Regions from separate parts of the Homo sapiens genome. Here all the other regions are linked to region 3. The links are contacts of gene promoters, found by promoter capture Hi-C in blood cells and fetal thymus (Javierre and others, 2016). All regions are on one chromosome and are shown on one strand. The core of a region is centred on a gene start or on the middle of the fragment in contact, and the rest is flanking DNA. Distances in the headings are between cores, read along the strand shown.

The links. The method cuts DNA at HindIII sites, captures the fragments that hold promoters and counts their contacts. A CHiCAGO score of 5 or more calls a contact.
Region 1: a contact is called between the fragment with the promoter of ZNF350 here and a fragment that was not itself captured in region 3, in 5 of 17 cell types (non-activated CD4 T cells, activated CD4 T cells, total B cells and 2 more). The highest score is 11.2, in non-activated CD4 T cells.
Region 2: a contact is called between the fragment with the promoter of ZNF615 here and a fragment that was not itself captured in region 3, in 1 of 17 cell types (non-activated CD4 T cells). The highest score is 7.3, in non-activated CD4 T cells.
Region 4: the fragment with the promoter of ZNF649 here is called in contact with a fragment that was not itself captured in region 3 in 7 of 17 cell types (non-activated CD4 T cells, activated CD4 T cells, naive CD4 T cells and 4 more); the score reaches 16.5 in non-activated CD4 T cells.
Region 5: the fragment with the promoter of ZNF175 here is called in contact with a fragment that was not itself captured in region 3 in 3 of 17 cell types (activated CD4 T cells, fetal thymus and non-activated CD4 T cells); the score reaches 8.1 in activated CD4 T cells.
Region 6: a contact is called between the fragment with the promoter of ZNF613 here and a fragment that was not itself captured in region 3, in 8 of 17 cell types (total CD8 T cells, activated CD4 T cells, non-activated CD4 T cells and 5 more). The highest score is 8.6, in total CD8 T cells.

What each region holds. Positions count from the first base shown.
Region 1 is chr19:51,985,460-51,988,614 of GRCh38, forward strand. ZNF350 (zinc finger protein 350) reads right to left here and starts at 1,381. Exons shown (of 5, transcript NM_021632.4): 1 at 1,311-1,381. RefSeq lists enhancers at 846-1,721, 1,308-1,547. The HindIII fragment of the contact is 6,623 bases long and covers 846-3,155 here.
Region 2 is chr19:52,006,666-52,009,791 of GRCh38, forward strand. ZNF615 (zinc finger protein 615) reads right to left here and starts at 1,546. Exons shown (of 7, transcript NM_001199324.2): 1 at 1,476-1,546; 2 at 628-665. LOC124904755 (a long non-coding RNA gene) reads left to right here and starts at 1,633. Exons shown (of 2, transcript XR_007067321.1): 1 at 1,633-1,814. RefSeq lists enhancers at 1,307-1,916, 1,977-2,056. The HindIII fragment of the contact is 6,775 bases long and covers 1-3,126 here.
Region 3 is chr19:53,519,635-53,522,380 of GRCh38, forward strand. It overlaps a transcript of ZNF331 not described here. Among named protein-coding and RNA genes, the nearest start is that of ZNF331, 17 kb to the right of the region's middle. RefSeq lists enhancers at 90-864, 865-1,638, 1,129-1,328, 1,639-2,412. The HindIII fragment of the contact is 293 bases long and covers 1,351-1,643 here.
Region 4 is chr19:51,903,695-51,906,607 of GRCh38, forward strand. ZNF649 (zinc finger protein 649) reads right to left here and starts at 1,323. Exons shown (of 5, transcript NM_023074.4): 1 at 1,220-1,323. RefSeq lists enhancers at 1, 1,092-1,636, 1,355-1,474, 1,965-2,589. The HindIII fragment of the contact is 3,228 bases long and covers 1-2,674 here.
Region 5 is chr19:51,569,939-51,572,827 of GRCh38, forward strand. It overlaps ZNF175 (zinc finger protein 175), which reads left to right and starts at 1,345. Exons shown (of 5, transcript NM_007147.4): 1 at 1,345-1,537. RefSeq lists an enhancer at 1,007-1,066. The HindIII fragment of the contact is 9,759 bases long and covers 1-2,889 here.
Region 6 is chr19:51,925,950-51,929,009 of GRCh38, forward strand. ZNF613 (zinc finger protein 613) reads left to right here and starts at 1,523. Exons shown (of 6, transcript NM_001031721.4): 1 at 1,523-1,591. RefSeq lists enhancers at 543-1,306, 1,162-1,461. The HindIII fragment of the contact is 2,177 bases long and covers 238-2,414 here.

The DNA of each region.
Region 1 (3,155 bases), core at 131-2,630, 1.5 Mb before region 3:
CTCCCTCAGAAACTCCCAGGCAGATTTTCACATACATAGTTGGCTAGAATTGCACCATACGCCTAAGCTCATTTCCATGTCAAACCTATCACTAGCAATGGCAATTGGAACCAGCAAGATTGGCTAAGACCAACAAGGCCTTACTAAGAAACTGGGATTTGGGTCGCCTTGCCACAGGGATGAATACTTCACGAAATGGAGATTCTGTTAAGAAAGTGTGAATATAAGGCGGGCAAGCAACACTCACTATATATTAAGAAGTGAAGGCCGGGCGCGGTGGCTCACGCCTGTAATCCCAGCACTTTGGAAAGCCAAGGTGGGCGGATCACCTGAGGTCAGGAGTTCGAGACCAACCTGCCCAACGTGGTAAAACCCTGTCTCTACTAAAAATACAAAAACTAGCCGGGCGTGGTGGCGTGGGCCTGTAGTCCCAGCTACTCAGGAGGCTGAGGCAGGAGAATCGCTTGAACCCGGGAGGCGGAGATTGCAGTGAGCCGAGATCGCGCCATTGCACTCCAGTCTGGGAGACAAAAGTGAAACTCCGTCTCAAAAAATAAAAAAAATAAATAAAAAATAAAAGAAGTGAATGCAGAGGTTGGCAACATTTTCGATTTTGCCGGCCACGAGGTCTCTGTCACAACAACTCAACCGCTGCCTTTGCAGCCATAGACAATATATAATCGGAGGGTATGACTGAACTTGACCCCCCGATCTGTAAATAGCCACCCCAAGGATCAGAAGAGTAGATATATGGTTTCGAACTAATGCTGGGGGCTGTGTCGCCTTTTGCCCCAGTAACCGAGGTTCGAACCTCAACCCAGGACCCAGGGCTCCAAAGTCTCGAAAGCTTCAGCCCTCACAAGCCTTTGTACCACAGACACTGGCCCCATGCCTCTTACTCATCCGAACCACGGACCAGACACTCTACAGCGATGGACATCCTCCCAGACTCCAACATCACTGAGTTCCAAATTAAATCCTGAACCCGAAGCAGACGCCGCATCGATCCTAATCGCCACCTCCATCCTTTACAAGCAGAGTGATCCATACCTTGACAGTTAGGACACGGCCGTTGATCACTACAGACCCTTAGTCACTGTACTCACACCAAAGGCACGCGGACCACAGACAGGGGGATCACAGACTCCCACCAGGTACCTCCCAAATGCCTATACCCCGGCGCTCCCCAGTCTTCCTGCCAAAAACTATGTGGTCCAGGGTACACCACGTCCTCAGATCTCCCAAACCTTCCACTGAGACAAAACCTGAACTAGGACAAAAAACTTTCAGGGACAAAACCACACACTGACCTCTATTTTCTCCAGATACACAAGAAGGGCCTCAACGTTACACTTCCGTAAACTGCTCCTACTTCTGGAGTCCTCGCACGGGTTTATGGTCCACCTACGGCGGCCGAGGAGAACCTAAAATGTTTAAAAGAGCAAGGACAAGCGCATTTACGGCATTTCCTACTCTGTAAAATGGCCGCGCCCATAGCCGTGGCTCCTGACGGCAGCCATGTTTGAAAATTGGACGCACAGAAGGCAGTGGCAGGTTTTTGAGCCAGGAGCCAGGGAAGAAGAGAAGTCACTGAAATCGCCTCGTTTCCTGGCACTTAAAGTCTTGCGAAAGGGGGCAGATTTTCAGAGACTCAGGCTTTATCAGGCAAATATGGGGCAAGCTAAATTGCCTTTAGCGCTTTTCCATCCACTTTGTTAAATTTAAAAAAAAAGGTTTTGAAAAAGACAAGTAACAGTGCAGCCAGGTGTAGGTATCCCAGAGAATGAATTGGAAATGGAAAAGGTAACAGATCAGGTAGAAAGGGAAAAGGCAACACATCAGGTAGGCAGACACCCACGGGAAAGCGTCTGGCGAAAATTAGCTTGCAGGAAGCGGTTTTTAAGAACAGAAAAATAGCAGGTATTCGGGGGGGCGGGTGGTGAAGAAAGAAAAAAATTATAATTTTTTTTGAGACGGAGTCTTGCTCTGTCGCCAGGCTGGAGTGCAGTGGCGAGATCTGGGCTCACTGCAACCTCTGCCTCCCTGGTTCAAGCGATTCTCCTGCCTTAGCCTCCCAAGTAGCTGGGACTACAGGCACGCGCCACCACGCCCAGCTAATTTTTGTATTTTTAGTAGAGACTGGCTTTCACCATGTTGGCCAAGATGATCTCGACCTCCTGACCTCGTGATCTGCCTGTCTCGGCCTCCCAAAGTGCTGGGATTACAGGTGTGAGCCACCGCGCCTGGCCTCGAAAAAATGATTATTATTTACAAAAAAGAAGAAGAAGAAGGAGGAAGAGGAGGAGGAGAAGGAAGAGAAAAGAGGAGAAAAGAAGAGAAAAGAGGAGAGGAGAGGAGAGAAAAGAGATTTTGAGAATGAATTACGATGTGAGCCTGGCCACGACAGACTAAAGGAATTGGGCCTCCTAGAAAGGCCACTTTTAGTAAAGGTGCCAATGGGAAGAGCAGAGCCAGAATTGAGAGTATAAAAATATTGTTAAGAGTTTTTGACAAAAGTGCCAAGACAATTCAATAAGAATAGTCTTTTCAACAAGCGGCACTGGGATAATTGGATATCCACATCCAGAAAAATGAGTTAGGACCCTCAAACCATACACAAAAGTTAACTCAAAATAGATCATAGATCTAAGTTTAAGAGAAAGTATAAAACTTAGAGAAGGAAAAGGGAGATAATCCTCATGGACGTGAGTTAATTCTGAGAGGAGAGTAAAGGATGACCCACAAAACAAAATAAAATTAATAAAGTGGACTTGATTTTTTTTTAAGTTTGTGCTTCTAAACACAACATTTAAGAAAGTGAAGTGGGGCACGGTGGCTCACACCTGTAATCCCAGCACTTTGGGAGGCCGAGGCAGGCGGATCATCTGAGGTCAGGAGTTCCAGACCAGCCTGGCCAACAAAGCGAAACCAGTCTCTACTAAAAATACAAAAATTACCCGGACGCGGTGGCGCGCGCCTGTAATCCCAGCTACTCGGGAGCCTGAGGCAGGAGAATCGCTTGAATCCGGGAGGCGGAGGTTGCAGTAAGCCGAGATCGCGCCACTGCACCCCAGCCTGGGCGACAGAGCAAGACTCCTCGGTAAAGACACCACTTCGTCACCCTGAATTACTCTGATTTTTATGGGTACAATGAG
Region 2 (3,126 bases), core at 296-2,795, 1.5 Mb before region 3:
TGATTCACAAACAGAGGAATGGATGAATACTTAGAAAACCAGTAGAGCTGATCTAATACAATGTTAATGGTAAAAGCTAGGTGGTAGGCATATTGGTATTAACATTAAACTTCTTTCAATATTTCCATAGGTTCAAAAATTTTCACAAAATAATATGTTAGGCAGAGAGAAAAATATTGTAATACTAAGAATTAAGATGACCAAATATAAAATAAATATTTAAAATTAATTTATCTTTTGTTATAGATTATAAGGAAAGGGGAGTCAGAAAGCAATACACTGCAATAAAAGTAATAGTCTAGATTGAAGATTAAAGGCAGGAAAAACAAAATTCATGGATAAATGGATAATCATAAAATGTTCCTAAAAATAATACCTAAACATTTTAAAACATTTCACTTCTATCCAAATGTACGCATAAACTTAATGTGAATGCACTTATAGTACCACCGGCTCAAACAGTAAAAACAACTTCTAAATGTTTATTACATAATATAAAGCGAAAAAGATAATAGTACCATTTACATAATTTATCTGAATTATGAATATTAAGCACATAACATACACGTCTAAAATTGAAATATTCTGAAAATTTGACAAAGGTTATCTTTGAGTAACCGAGCTTACCATGGCAGAGATGTTATCTTACTTGTGTCAGAAAGAACCTGAAAAGAAATATCCAAGAGGATACGCTGGAAACTTGCAGGACAAAGGGTAGAAGCCGCATCTTAAATATAAAACATACTACTTTTAGGTATGCTAGATGACTGATCTCGCCAAAAACTTCCATTTCTGAGGATTCAAGACCAAGGGGTGATGGAAGGTGCCAAAGGGGATTTAAAAACCAGTCGTGGAGAAGGGTCTTGGGCAGAAGGGGAATGCTAATGAGCATCAATTCTGTTCCAGCAGCCAGGGCTGGGGCTAACCCATCACCTGCCATGGTTCCCAGGCCTCCAGAGCTGCAGCCCACATCGGAATCTGTGGCGCTACCACCACCGCCACCGGGATTAATTCCAAAACCTGGATCAGAAACCTCCGTACCTTAACCCCCAAGACAGTTCCTCAATCATTTAGTCCCAAACAAAACCTGAACCATAAACCGATTCGCTGACAAAACAAACCCTCCAGTTCGCAATCACTGAGCCCCGCCAAAGGACAACACCAAAGACACCAGAATGTGACTTGGGCACTCAGTAGCGGATCTCTAGAGATCTTTAACCACAAACTACACGAGGACCCTGTGACTGGTCCCAGAGGTACCCCGATCACACACACACACACCCTATCACGGACCTCTTGTAGTTCCCCTGCGATAGGAATCGGACCCACGCTAAGCTCCTGAAAGAATTCCACTGGCGTCGCCAAACGCTGGCGCCGACAGATACCAGTCCATCACCACTGTCCACGAACACGCCCAGCCACGGACAGAATTTCCTCCCCCGTCACCACAGCGACCACCCAGTGACTGAACTTACTTCCCAGAACTTGGTGGGCTCCGGCCTCATCTCTCGGCCTCCTCAGTGCCTGACGGCGACTATCCAGGGTCGGAGGCGTTCCCAGCGTTTGCGCAGATGCAAGATGGCCGCGCCCTCGTCGCCTTGGCTCCATGGGGGCCGCCATCTTTGAGTATCTGACGTACACAAGGCAAAGGGCGCGTTTTGGCGCTGGTGACCGGGGGTGACCGGGGGTGACCGGGGATGGCCGGGAAGATGAAAGAGCACTGAAACTGTCCCATTTCCTGGCACCTCAACCCTTCATAAATACGGGTCCATATACAGAGGCTCCAGTTTACACAAGACAAAAATGGCGTGGAGGTAAATCCCTTTCAGCAGCTGAATAGAAGGCTAAGATGGCCGCGACGTTTACACTTTGTACAAAGGTTAGGAAACAGTTCCTTGTGAGGGAAAAGGAGAACCGGCCGAGAGGGGACACTTCGGCCAAAGCCAGATTTCTAACAAAGTAGCTTGAAGCGCCTTTTGAACGCAGAAGAGGGCTGTTAGCTACGCTGACGGAACAGGGGTAGCAGTCACAGACTAGGTAATGAAAACGGTTGGAACGTGCCAAAATTATGTTGGGTGAAAGGCATGGGGAAAAGCCAGTAAAAGCCAGAAAGTATAGTTCCCAAGGCGGAGGGGAGAGCCTGGGACCCAGGTGGAGCCAAATATGAGGGCTGGACTCAGGAGAAGTGGCCAGAAATTAAGGGAACAGGACCACTTCAGTGAGAAAAAAAAGGTTGGGAAAGAGGCCGGGCGCGGTGGCTCACGCCTGTAATCCCAGCACTTTGGGAGGCCGAGGTGGGCGGATCACCTGAGAGCGGGAGTTCGAGACCAGCCTGACCAACATGGAGAAACCCTGTCTCTACTAAAAATACAAAATTAGCCAGGCATGGTGGCGCATGCCTGTAATCCCAGCTACTCGGGAGGCTGAGGCAGGAGAATCGCTTGAACCCGGGAGGCGGAGGTTGCTGTGGGCCAAGATGGCGTCATTGCACTCCAGCCTGGGCAACAGGAGCAAAACTCCATCTCAAAAAAAAAACAAAAGAAAGAAAGGTTAAGAAGGAGATCACGTTATACTACGTGTGCCAACCGCGAATAGTATGTGCAAAGTCATGGCAATGCTGAACTGTAAATATAAATCCAACCAAACTTCCTATATTAGAAGAATGAGAGAAAGGAAATGCCTGTGTGAATCTATGTGTGTGATATAGGTATCAGTATATAAATATACAGAGAAATTGTCAAACTATTTTTCAGAGTCAAGTTCGTGTTCCATTTGCTCTTCTCACCCTTGGTATATGAGAGTTTTTCTTTTTTTTTGTTTTTTTTTTGTCTCTTTTTGAGGCAAGGTCCACTCTGTTGCCCAGTCTGGAGTGCCTGGGGAGATCACAGCTCACTGTAACTTGGAACTCCTGGGCTCCTGAATAGCTGGGACTACAGGTGGGCACCACCACACCTGGCTAATTTTTTAATTTTCTGTAGAGACAAGGGTCTCACTATGATGCCCAGCTGGTCTTGAACTGGCCTCAAGCAGTCCTCCCACTTCATCCTCCAAAAGTGCTGGGATTACAGGTGTGAGCCACTTCACCCTTCACCCGGCCTATAAAGAGATCTGAAAAGAAATAAGAAA
Region 3 (2,746 bases), core at 247-2,746:
CCCGCCCATACCAAGGTAACACTCACAGAGACATCTGAAGAGCCAGGCAGTGCTCCCAAGTCTGGGACAGCATCAGAGAACGAAACGCAAAGTCCTGCCCTTACAGAGAGAGCCTTGGCACAGACCCAGTCAGGACCAGGTCACTCCCGTGGAACCTACTCAAGGTCCCTACACACATGCCTGGAGCTCCCCAATCTACTGGGGGGTGGGGGAAAGGGCAGTGCTGAAACGTCCCCAAAATCTCACATGTAAACACCCTACCTAACACTTTCTAGAGGCATTTCCAGCTCGGGGCTGTATTTCCAAGAACGCTCTGGAGGCACAGCTCTTTTCTAAGGAGGGCCATGTTGCATGCTGGGAAATTTTTGAACTTTTCCCAAATCACAGCTTTTAAGCTTTCCGGGCTTATTATTATTATTATTATTATTTTGAGACATTGTTTCACTCTTATCGCCCAGGCTGGAGTGCAGTGGTGTGATCTCGGCTCACTGCAACCTCTGCCTCCTGGGTTCAAGCGATTCTCTTCCCTCAGCCTCCCAAGTAGCTGGGATTACAGGCACACACCACCACGCCTGGCTAATTTTTGCATTTTTAGAGCGATGGGGTTTCACCATGTTGGGCAGGAGGGTCTCGAACTCCTGATCTCAGGTGATATACCCGCCTCGGCCTCCCAAAGTGCTGAGATTACAGGCGTGATTTCTGGTCGTTTCAGACTACATTTCCTTCCCAGAAGGACGCGGGGACACGCCTTCCCTATGGACGGATCCCAAATGCAAGTTGTAAGCAATTATAACTGTAGGCCCCTAGAGCCTGAACCACTTTTCCCAGGAATTTTTTGTGGTGCGCCTTAGGAGCAAGCAAAGTTTCAGGGCAGGAGAAGGCCGACAGGGCTTCCAGCATTTGAAGATTCTGCCAGTCTGAAATACGCTTTCCCAGAAGTCTATGGGGGGTGCAGCTGCTCTAACAGTGGGAGGAGACACCGACGAAAAGCATTCTGACGGCCGCGCTTCCAGCGCTAAGGATTCCCGCGTAGTGAGCATTTCCCAGAGGTCTCTGGGGCATGGCTCCATTAGGGCCGTGTGCAGTTGCCTGCAGGGAAACACTGATGGGCGCCCTTCCAGATACGTCGATTCCCGGGTTATGAGCTACATTTCCCAGAAGCCCTCAAGGCAGGACGCCCTTAGGGTCGCGTAGAGTTGCATGCTGGGAAATCCTGACAGCCGCTTCCAACTCTGTGGATTTCCGGGTTATGGACTACATTTCCCAGAGGCCTCTGGGTCACGGCTCCATTTGCGCCGTGTAGAGTTGCATGCTGGGAAACACTGACGGGCGCCCTTCCAGCTGCGTCGAAGCTTCTCTGGTTTCGCATTACATTTCCCAGAGGGCCTTGGGGCACAGTCCAATGAGGAGCGAGCCGGGTGGCCGGCTGAGGGGCGTGCTTCATGCTCGCGGGATTTTTAAAAATGGTTTCTCCTGGATCTTATCCCAACTGCGCCTGAGACCTTGTTTCACCTCCTGATGTGCTGGGTGTGGTTAGGCCTCGAGCCGGGAGCTATTTGCCTCCCAGGAGGAAGCCAGGGCAGGGTTCCGCGGGGAATGGCGGTGAGGGAGCCACTCGGGACGCGGAGGCCCTAAAATGAAGAAGCTTCGGCCTGAGGCTTCGGGAGCGGCGAGCAGGGAAGTGGGAGTGTGTGTGAGTGTGTGTGTGTGTGTGTGTGTGTGTGTGTGAATAAGCCAGAGGCTGCCTGGTGGGGCCCCGCCGTGGCCCAGTGACTGAGATAATTGTCTTCGTCTGTGGGGTAATGCGAACAAGCCCCGTTCCCCTAAGCCGTGATGCATGCGGGGTTGACGCGGCCGGGCTCTGTCCCCATAAACTGTGACACAGGTGTGTGTAGACGTCTATGAGGGCCATAGCGCCGGGCTGTAAGGGCATCTGTAGGGGTGACGCAGCCGGGCTGTGTCTCTGCACCTCCGTTCTGTGCGAGGTCAATGCTGGTGGGGTCTGCAGAGGTGGCACGGCCAGGACGGGTCTCCGTGTCTCTGAAATGTGCCTTTGCACTTCTGTCAGGTTGACAGGGACAGGCAGTGTCCCTCTGGTGTGAGCGTCTGTGGGTGTGAAAGGGCCAGCGAGTGTGCGGCTGTGACTGGTCGGGATCGGGCCTGGGTGCATGGCCTTTTGAGTGAGCACAGGTGTGTGCGACCATGTCACCTGTCTTTCTAGTGTCTCCGTTGCTTCCTGTGCCTTGGCCTTCCAGCCATGTGGTACCTGCTAGGGAGCAGTGGTCCCAAAGTGACGTGAGAGGCTCTACGCTATTGTGAAAATGACCAAGAAGAAGGCTTCACAAGTCACGAGATGGCAGTTTTGGAGCCAGAAGTGCTCTCCGTGCACACTACCTGGACGACAAGAGGAAGTAACCTCAAGAATAGAATTCCTTTTGGGGAAGAAAGAGGTACCTGACATGGGAGGCGGGGAGGTGGTGAGAGGGGCAGCTCCATGTTTCAGAACCCCAGTTCCTAGAGTTTTCCAGCATTTCTCTGAAAAACTCACATGCCTGTGCCCTCTTATTTCTGATTGATTTTAACTGTGGTCTGGGGACAAGTGTGCCCTATTTTCTTTCTTTGTTTTTTTTTTTTTTGAGACAGAGTCTTGCTCTGTCGCCCAGGGCTGGAGTGCAGTGGTGCGATCTCGGTTCCCAGGTTCAAGCGATTCTCCTGCCTCAGCCTCCCAAGTAGCTGGGACCACAGG
Region 4 (2,913 bases), core at 73-2,572, 1.6 Mb before region 3:
TGTAATCCCAGCCACTCGGGAGGCTGAGGCAGGACAGTCGCTAGAACCCAGGAGGCGGAGGTTGCAGTGAGCTGAGATCGCACCACTGCACTCCAGACTGGACAACAGAGCTAGATTCCGTCTGGGGGATAGGAGGAAACTTTGATCCCCAAATGCTCAAGGAGACTGATGCTTAAGCAAACTAAATATTGCCTGAGAACGACTCCATACTTCTATATTTGAGTCCTTGTGGATAAACTGCAACCTAGCTTAACAGACAAAATTGAAAACCGAACTTAATCGTATGCACCTGTAACAATAGCTGAGTGGTGGCCAGTCCCAGCGGCCATACTCATAGACTGCTGAATGTTCCAACTGCGTTCAAATAAGGCAAACGCCGAATGGTAACCAATCTCACTGTTTCTGGACCTCGCTTCCGATTCCTGTATGTCACTTTACCTTTTTTGTCTATAAATTTGTTCTGACCACGAGGCACCCCTGGAGTCTCTGTTAATCTGCTGTGATTCTGGGGGCTGCCCAATTCGCGAATCGTTCATTGCTCAAGGAAACTCCTGTAAATTTAATTCGGCTTCAATTTTTCTTTTATCACTGATTTGAGTAATAATAAAACTCCGGTCTCCCCGCACAGCCGGCTCTGCATGAATTGCTCTTTCTCCATTGCAATTTCCCTGTCTTAACAAGTCGGCTCTGTCTAGGCAGCCGGCAAGGGTGGGCGGTTATAGTTTCACAACTCAACCCCAGCCAGGGGCCTGGGCTTGTAAAATACCAGATTTTACAAGCCTCTGAGCCCCACATGCCTGGGCCTCCCCGAAACACTTAACACACATCCCCGATTCACCCCAAAACCTACACCACACACCCTCGTACGCTGCCCAGCACCCCGGCTTCATCACCGACTTTAAACTGCAGCATTTGGAGTGATAATAATGGCGTCGGTGATAAAGCCGGCGTGCTGGGCAGCGTCCCCCTAGAGTTCTCCATCCAGTGATCCAGAGGCCTACTAACAGAGTGACCCTCAGAGACCCCAAACTCTGACGCCGAGTCTCAGTCGCTGAACTCGACAGACCTTTAACGCCCGACCACAAGAACTCTCCCACGCCGGACCGCAAAGGCACCCCAACCCAAAGGCTCCACCGCCCAGGCCGCCAGCTCTCCCCACAGGCTCCTCAGAAGCTCCCTACCCCTTTAACCTACTCCACGGAGAGACCCAAACACTCACCTGATTTTCTTCTGGCTACACCTAAATTCCCTGAATGCTTCCTTTCCTGGCCCTTAAACCCCGGCACTGGCCTATGGCGGCGGACGAGGGCGCGAGTCAATTCTGCCGCGCTAGGACGATGGGACATGGGCTTCTCTTCGAGGAGGTAACATGTCCGCGCCCTGAGCCACGGCTCTCTGGGCGCGGCCATCTTGGTAGATCTGCCGTACAGAAGGGAAACAGTTGTTCTTGTGTCATTAAACCGGGATGACTCTCCTGAAAGCAAAAATTTGAGGCGCAGGAGCATTTTCTAGAGTTTATCTGAACAAACAGCAATTCATGAATTAGGAAGCATCAAACCAAAAGAAGTCTCGCGCTTCTATGCTTAAAGCATTAGACACAAGTATTCACAGGGTGAGTGAAGGAGTAAAACAAAGAAATTATTTGATTAGTTACAATTATAAAAATGCATTTTTTTAAATTTGCCTTGGAAAGTCCCTAATGACATAATAGCATGTGAGTTGCCTACTTTTGATCGGTTGAGATTGAGTTTTGTCCTTCCCTAACACAAGCATTTACCAGAAATGACTCAAGTGAATTGTTGCTTATGTTTGCAGGTTAAGCAAGGTTAAGGCTGTTTTTAAGGCCTACTGGGTTTTGTTTGCTCAGGAGTTTTTGAATTCTGGTCTGCATTTTAATTTTGCTTTGACACAGGAGACAGTGAAATGGCACTGATGTGTTCCCTCTCCTGACACCTCAACCCCTGCACTGTGAGGTTGGAGCACTAACAACAGTGCACTGTGGGGAAAAGAAAGAGAGATCAGACTGTTACTGTGTCTATGTAGAAAGAAGTAGACATAAGAGACTCCATTTTGTTCCGTACTAAGAAAAATTCTTCTGCCTTGAGATGCTGTTAATCTGTAACCCTACCCCCAACCCTGTTCTCACAGAGACGTGTGCTGTGTTGACTCAAGGTTTAATGGATTTAGGGCTATGCAGGATGTGCTTTGTTAAACAAATGCTTGAAGGCAGTATGCTTGTTAAAAGTCATCACCACTCTCTAATCTCAAGTACCCAGGGACACAATACACTGCGGAAGGCCACAGGGACCTCTGCCCCAGAAAGCCAGGTATTATCCAAGGTTTCTCCCCATGTGATAGTCTGAAATATGGCCTCGTGGGAAGGGAAAGACCTGACCATCCCTCAGCCCGACACCCGTAAAGGGTCTGTGCTGAGGAGGATTAGTATAAGAGGAAGGAAGGCCTCTTGCAGTTGAGACAAGAGGAAGGCATCTGTCTCCTGCTCGTCCCTGGGCAATGGAATGTCTCGGTATAAAACCCGATTGTATGTTCCATCTACTGAGATAGGAGAAAATCGCCTTAGGGCTGGAGGTGAGACAAGCTGGCGGCAATACTGCTCTTTAATGCACCGAGACGTTTATGTATGTGCATATCAAAGCACAGCACCTTCTTCTTAAGCTTGTTTATGACACAGAGACATTTGTTCACATGTTTTCCTGCTGACACTCTCCCCACTATTATCCTATTGTCCTGCCACATCCCCCTCTCCGAGATGGTAGAGATAATGATCAATAAATACTGAGGGACTCAGAGACCGGTGCCGGCGCGGGTCCTCTGTATGCTGAGCACCGGTCCCCTGGACCCACTTTTCTTTCTCTATACTTTGTCTCTGTATCTCTTCTTTTCTCAGTCTCT
Region 5 (2,889 bases), core at 95-2,594, 1.9 Mb before region 3:
TGCATTTTCCTTTTTTTAAATAAAATGTACCAAAGCCGTAGGGTAAATCCTATGACACAGTAAAGAATAGTCTCAGATTTATAAGTGGAGAAAATTCAAAAGTTCTAAGTCCGGGGAATTTCTTAGTAACTCAAACAAAATGTCACACTTTCTCACATAATAAAGATAAGTGTTTTTATTGATTTTACACTATTTGCTTACAGTAAATATATAATTGATGTTTTAAAATAAAAGCAGGTTTCATGCTTCATGTAACAAAGTTAGGTTCAGATACTAATGTGAAAACTCAACTATTCCTGGGAAACCATGTTCAAAAAAATGCTTCATTGGCTAAGCAGTCTTATTTTATTATTCAAATGGACTAAAAATGAGGTATGAAGTAATTAAAAGTAATATGGTGGCTTTAAGTGCAGAGATGGGGTGGCAGAAGCTGTGAACACAGAATGTAAAATCGGTAACTACAAAATGGCACAAACTACGAAAGCAATATATTTAAATTACTATTTTTTAAAAAAGAAGGATCATTTCAGATCTTCACCTTCAGATCCTCACTCAGCCCTGCCTCCTATTTCCCATAATCAGCCATTTTTTTAATTTTATGATTGCTATTACTCACCTTCTAGAATATATTTTTGTTTATTTGATTGAACAACCTCTTCCTGAAAATTCTGCCCAGTTGGGCTGGCTGACATTGATCTCAGTAATTGTGTTTTTTTCCTTTAACTTGATTATATTTTTTTCATTCGCCTCTCTTTAAATGAAGTGTCCCAAGAGCCCTAAATTCTCTCTTCAGGTGGTCGCTTGGTAGGTTACTTCATCAATAGGTTCATCCAGGTATAGAGAGCAATGGTGTAAGGATAACAAAGATACAATTTCTCAGAAAGATAACATTTTCAAAAGTGCTATTAAAGACAGTGAGTTGTTCAGCAATTCAGGAAAAAAAAGTCTTTAAATCAGAGGGAAAAATATAGAGAAAAAGTATTTTTCAGAATACATGTCAGTTTCTCCTAGAAATATATATACACAAGTATTGAATAGGTCCCCTGCCAATGTAGGACCCAAGACTTTTACTCTGTGACATTCCATTTGTCCTTGGCTGTACGGAATAAAAGCCCTTTGACGATGGCGGCCTCCAATATCATAATCCGTATGGGTGCGGCCATGCCGTCCTCCCTACCAAGTTTCTGAAGTTGAATGAACCGCGGAATAAAGGTACGCCGTTATACGCCATGATAACTGTTGGCGGAGCGTAGCTTCAAAAGTGTTAGTGGGCATGCGCGCGGTTCAACAGCGCCTACGGAAATCCTAACGGGAATGTAACCCAAACCGGAAGTGGCCTAGAGCGACCATTTAGCTTCTGTTGTTAAGTGGATCTAAGCCTATGTCGCTTACTGGACGCTGAAGTGATTGGGAATATTAGCAGTGGGGGTTCTGTAGGGTCAGGAAGGGGCGGCTGGCTTTGGGGGAGTGATGAGGGGCTTGTTGGGGGTGGGGGTGCGTGATAAAGGGATTTCTCGGCTGAAGACGAGGCTGTGAGGTGAGTGACGGGCTTGTTTTGGCTGAGCGATGAGGGGTTTCTGGGGTGGGTGATGGGTGCTGTGGGGTAAGTGGCGTTTGCTAATTTTAGTTGGATAATTAGCCTGTTAATTTTCCCTCTTTTCTTGCTTATTTTCTGCTTGTAGTATTTTTGTGACTTAAATTCCAAGTGTACTTTAATATCGGATTTTATATTGGTCCACGAAACTTGCTAACTTGAGGACAGTGAACGTGCATCTTAAGAGCGCCTTTGCGGATGGTGCTGGAGGACGTTCAGGGAAGGGATTCACTGTCCGTGGGACTAGGGGAGTCAGTGATTGATTGGCAGCCAAGAGCTTCAGAGGTTGGAGGACTTTGAGGATCACACTGTAACACTCTCAGGGGACCAGTGATGGGCAACCTATAGGAATCAGTAGAGTGGGGTTGCCAGGGGTAGCCTATGGCAGCCAGTTGACTGGAGGCGTAGGGGGTCAATGATGGGGATTTGTGAGGGTGAATGCATTGCTTTCTAGGCAGTGAGTGTTGGGGTCCTTCAGGGATTGGTGGGTGGGTCAGTGTTGGCCTCTTCTTGGGTCCCTTGGACATGGTAAGGATCAGTAATTGACAGTTGAGCACATCGATGATGGTTTCCTATTGGGGCATTTCATTTGGACCCCTATGTTGGGGATTATTTGTCGTTTTATGGAAACCAGAAAATTGTGCTCGCTGGGAAACATTTCTTGGCTATCAGGGCAGTAAAGATTTCAGAAGCCTGTGCCATGTCAGTGACTGGGAGGCATTTTGGAACTTTCTGGCAGCCCTGTAGTACACTCATTGGGGATTTCTGAAAGTCAGTCCTGTCAGTGATTGCATTCAGGTGCGGTGGGGGCAACTTATTGTGGACAGGCAAGAAATGGTAACTGGAGGCCCTGATGCATGTCTGCAAATTTTCTGTGTCAAGATGGGGATTGGGACAGTGATTTTAAGTTTTAGCTCTAGTCAGAAGAGGCTGGTCTGTGTGTGGTGTATTATGGACGGGGACTGAAAAGTCCAGAAGCTCAGAATAGGTACACCAGACAGAGCCACCTCCCGGCCTGAGTTCTATGAAGGCAACAGAAAGAGGAAATGGTGTTTCTGGAAGCTGGCCACGTATGGGTACATGAGATAGTGGAGACAGTGTACAGTTTAGAACAAGGCAGATGTGGGGCTGATTCCCTGTTTTTCCATTTACAGACTGAGTAACCTTCAGGCAAATTATGTAACAGCACACAGCCTCATTATCCTCATCCTCAAAATGGGTATGATAATGCCCATGATATTTAGCTGACAATTAAATTGACAACTTTCTTTTTTTAATTCATATTTATCACGTGC
Region 6 (3,060 bases), core at 273-2,772, 1.6 Mb before region 3:
TAGTATTCCAGGGTATGATTACACTGCAATTTGCTTATACATTCATGTACTGATGGACACTTGGACTGTTTCCTGTTCAGGGTATTATGCATAAAGGTGCTAAGAACATTCTTGTGAGTCTTTGTGAGGACATATCATTTCATTACTGTTGTATAAGTATCTAGGAGTGGAATTCCTGAGTCATAAGATTCTTGCTTTTATTTTGCAATTCTCCTAAGGAGTCATATAGTTCTGTAAAGCTTTTCACTCTTCACAGATTTGATATTTTAAGTAACACGGTATGTTTCTGAAATGGAGTTTGCATTTTGGGGCATTTTCTATAGATGTATCATGAAGGACACGTGAAAACTCTGTTATAAATATAAACACTCCACTGCATGCAGGAATTTCCTTCTCATTCTTCCAATGGAATTGTCTTAATTTAGGTTGGATCAGAATTAGAATTTACGTTATGATGACTATGTAAATAATATTTATAGGTCAGTCAGGTAGTATCCTATGATTACTTTTCTTGCACAACTTTTTTTTTTCTTTTTTCTTTTTTTCCTCATGAAGGGGTTGCCAAGGCTGTGTAGTGCAGTGGCTATTGATAGGTGCGATCATAGCTCACTGCAGCCTGGAACTCCTGGGCTCAAGCGATCTTCCTGCCTTGGTCTCCCCAGTAGCTGGGACTACACGTGTGCGCCATCGCGCCCGGGCTTGCACAACTTTTCATTCTCCCAGAGTCGCCTTATTTATTCCTTCCAGAATTTTAGGCACTTGGTTCTCCGAAAGCCCCGACGTTAAGATTGACTCCACCTACAGCAGAGGGAAGGCCCTTCTTCTCTCTTAAGGAAAATTCCCGCCTCCCGCATTGGATTCCTTTTCCGGTTGGCTGGTGGCTGCTCTCTTTACCTGCACTGGGCGGTGACCGTGTCCCTCAAATGTAAATGAGGTTCCAGGGGTCGCTGTTTTTTCACTTTCCGTTGACGGGGTGAACAATATCCTCGTACCTCGATTGCCTCTCCACACCCTTTTGGTCCTCAAAAATCTTCCTCTTGTCCTCCACATGTAGCTAGATGCGTTTTCGCGGTATATGACTCAGGGTGCGATTGCTCTTTTTCCTCTGTGGAGAAAGCGTTTTCACTTGTACGGACACCTAAGTGTTAAGATGGCCGCGCCCATTGTGTCATTCCCGTCATTCTTTGTGCAAAGCGGATGACTTTTCTCCCCAGCCCGCTAAGGTGCACGTAGCCATACCATGTTTGTCTTGGCTAAGCTCGACCCTCTGAAAATAAATGAAACTTGGGCGCAGGATTTAGGTGCCAAAATATGGAGTTCTTCACCGTCCCGCGCTATCCCTGAATACTTGGGCAGAAAAGGTCCACTTTACCTTCCGTACGTGCAGGATTCAAAGATGGCTGCCTCCAGTATCCGTGACGAGAGGACGCGAACTTACTACCTCCCAGTCGTCCGTGCTCCGTACACCTGCAACTTCAGACCTTCCTCGGCCGCCGTAGGCCGGCTTGGAGGCTGGGGGAGGGCCCAGAAGTGGAATAATTCAGGAAAGTGCAGGTTCTGGGAAGTCTCGGTGGGTTCCCCGCAAAATCAGGTCTGTGTGTGGGTCTGTCTGTCAGGATGAGGGGAGGAGGGTGTCTGTGGGCGTCCGTTTAGTGCGGAGCCGTGGAGTTTGTGGGGGAAGCGGGAGCAAGTGGGAGTCGGGGTATTGGGGTTGGGGCGTCTCCGGAGTCAGCCCTGAGGGATCCCAGTGGTCGGTGGTCAGAGTCTGTCCAGAGCAACACTTGGAAGTCCGTGATCAGGGTTTGGTGCCTTTGCGGGTCACTCTGTAGGGCTCGGTGATTGAGGACTGGAGTGAGGAGTGGTTTTTGTCAAGGAAAACTGTGTCTGCTTCGGATTCGGGGTTTTATTTTTTATTTTTGAGACAGGGTCTCGCTCTGTCACACAGGCTTGAGTGCAGTGGCGCAATCGTGGCTCACTGCAGCCTCCATCTCCCGGGGCTCAGGTGATTTTCCCACCTCAGCTTTCCCGAGTAGCTGGGACTACAGGTGAGCGCCACCACGCTATCTATCTATCTATCTATCTATCTAATCTGTCTAATCTAATCTATCTATCTATCTATCTATCTATCTAATTTATCTATCTAATCTATCTGTTTATTGCAGAGACGGGGGTCTCACTATGTTGCCCAGGCTGGTCTCCAACTCCTGGCCTCAAACGATCCTCTCACCTTGGCCTCCCAAAGTGCTGGGATTACGGGCGTGAGCCTTCGCTCCAGGCTGTAATCAGGATTTAATATGCGACTCAGTGAGGAGGAGCCCGGGTTCATGTGAACCTAGGTGTGTGGTCCAGGTTTTTGGATTAATCTAAGGGGGTGTGACCATGTTAGGGAGGTCTAGATGTGACAGTCGTGGAGAAGCTTGTGAAGGCTGAAGCCTTGGCAGCCAGGGCATCCTGATTGGTGTGTGTGTTCAGGTCCAACGGTACATTCCCTCTCAGTCCCTTTTAAGTTTCTCTGCAAGGACTGGTTTACAAATCTCATTTGACTTCTCACATCTCTCCTTTCTCTCATCCTGGTAAATAGGAAAGCTTTGGGGAAGATCAAAGATTAATCAAATCTAAAATGGTAAGGTGGCCTGGCGCGGTGGCTCACGCCTATATTCCCAGCATTTGGGAGGCCAAAGTGGGCGAATTGCTCGAGCCTAGAAGTTGGAGATCAGCCTGAACAACATAGCCTGTCTCTCCAAAAAATACAAATATTAACTGGGTGTGGTAACACACGCCTGTAGTCTCAGCTACTCGGGAGGCTGAGGTGGGACGATCACGTGACCCCGGGAGTTCTAGGCTGCAGTGAACTATGATTGAGCACTGCACTCCAGCCTGGGCAACAGAGTGAGACCCTGCCTCAAAAAAAAAAAAAAAAGAAAAGAAAAGGAGAAAAGAAAAAGGAAAAAACAAAACGAAGAAAATGATAAGGTTTCTATTAAAGATTTTCGTTCTTCTTCCTCAGGTTTACTGTGTGAATGTGTGTATACACACACGTAAATATTTTCTTTCAGGTTC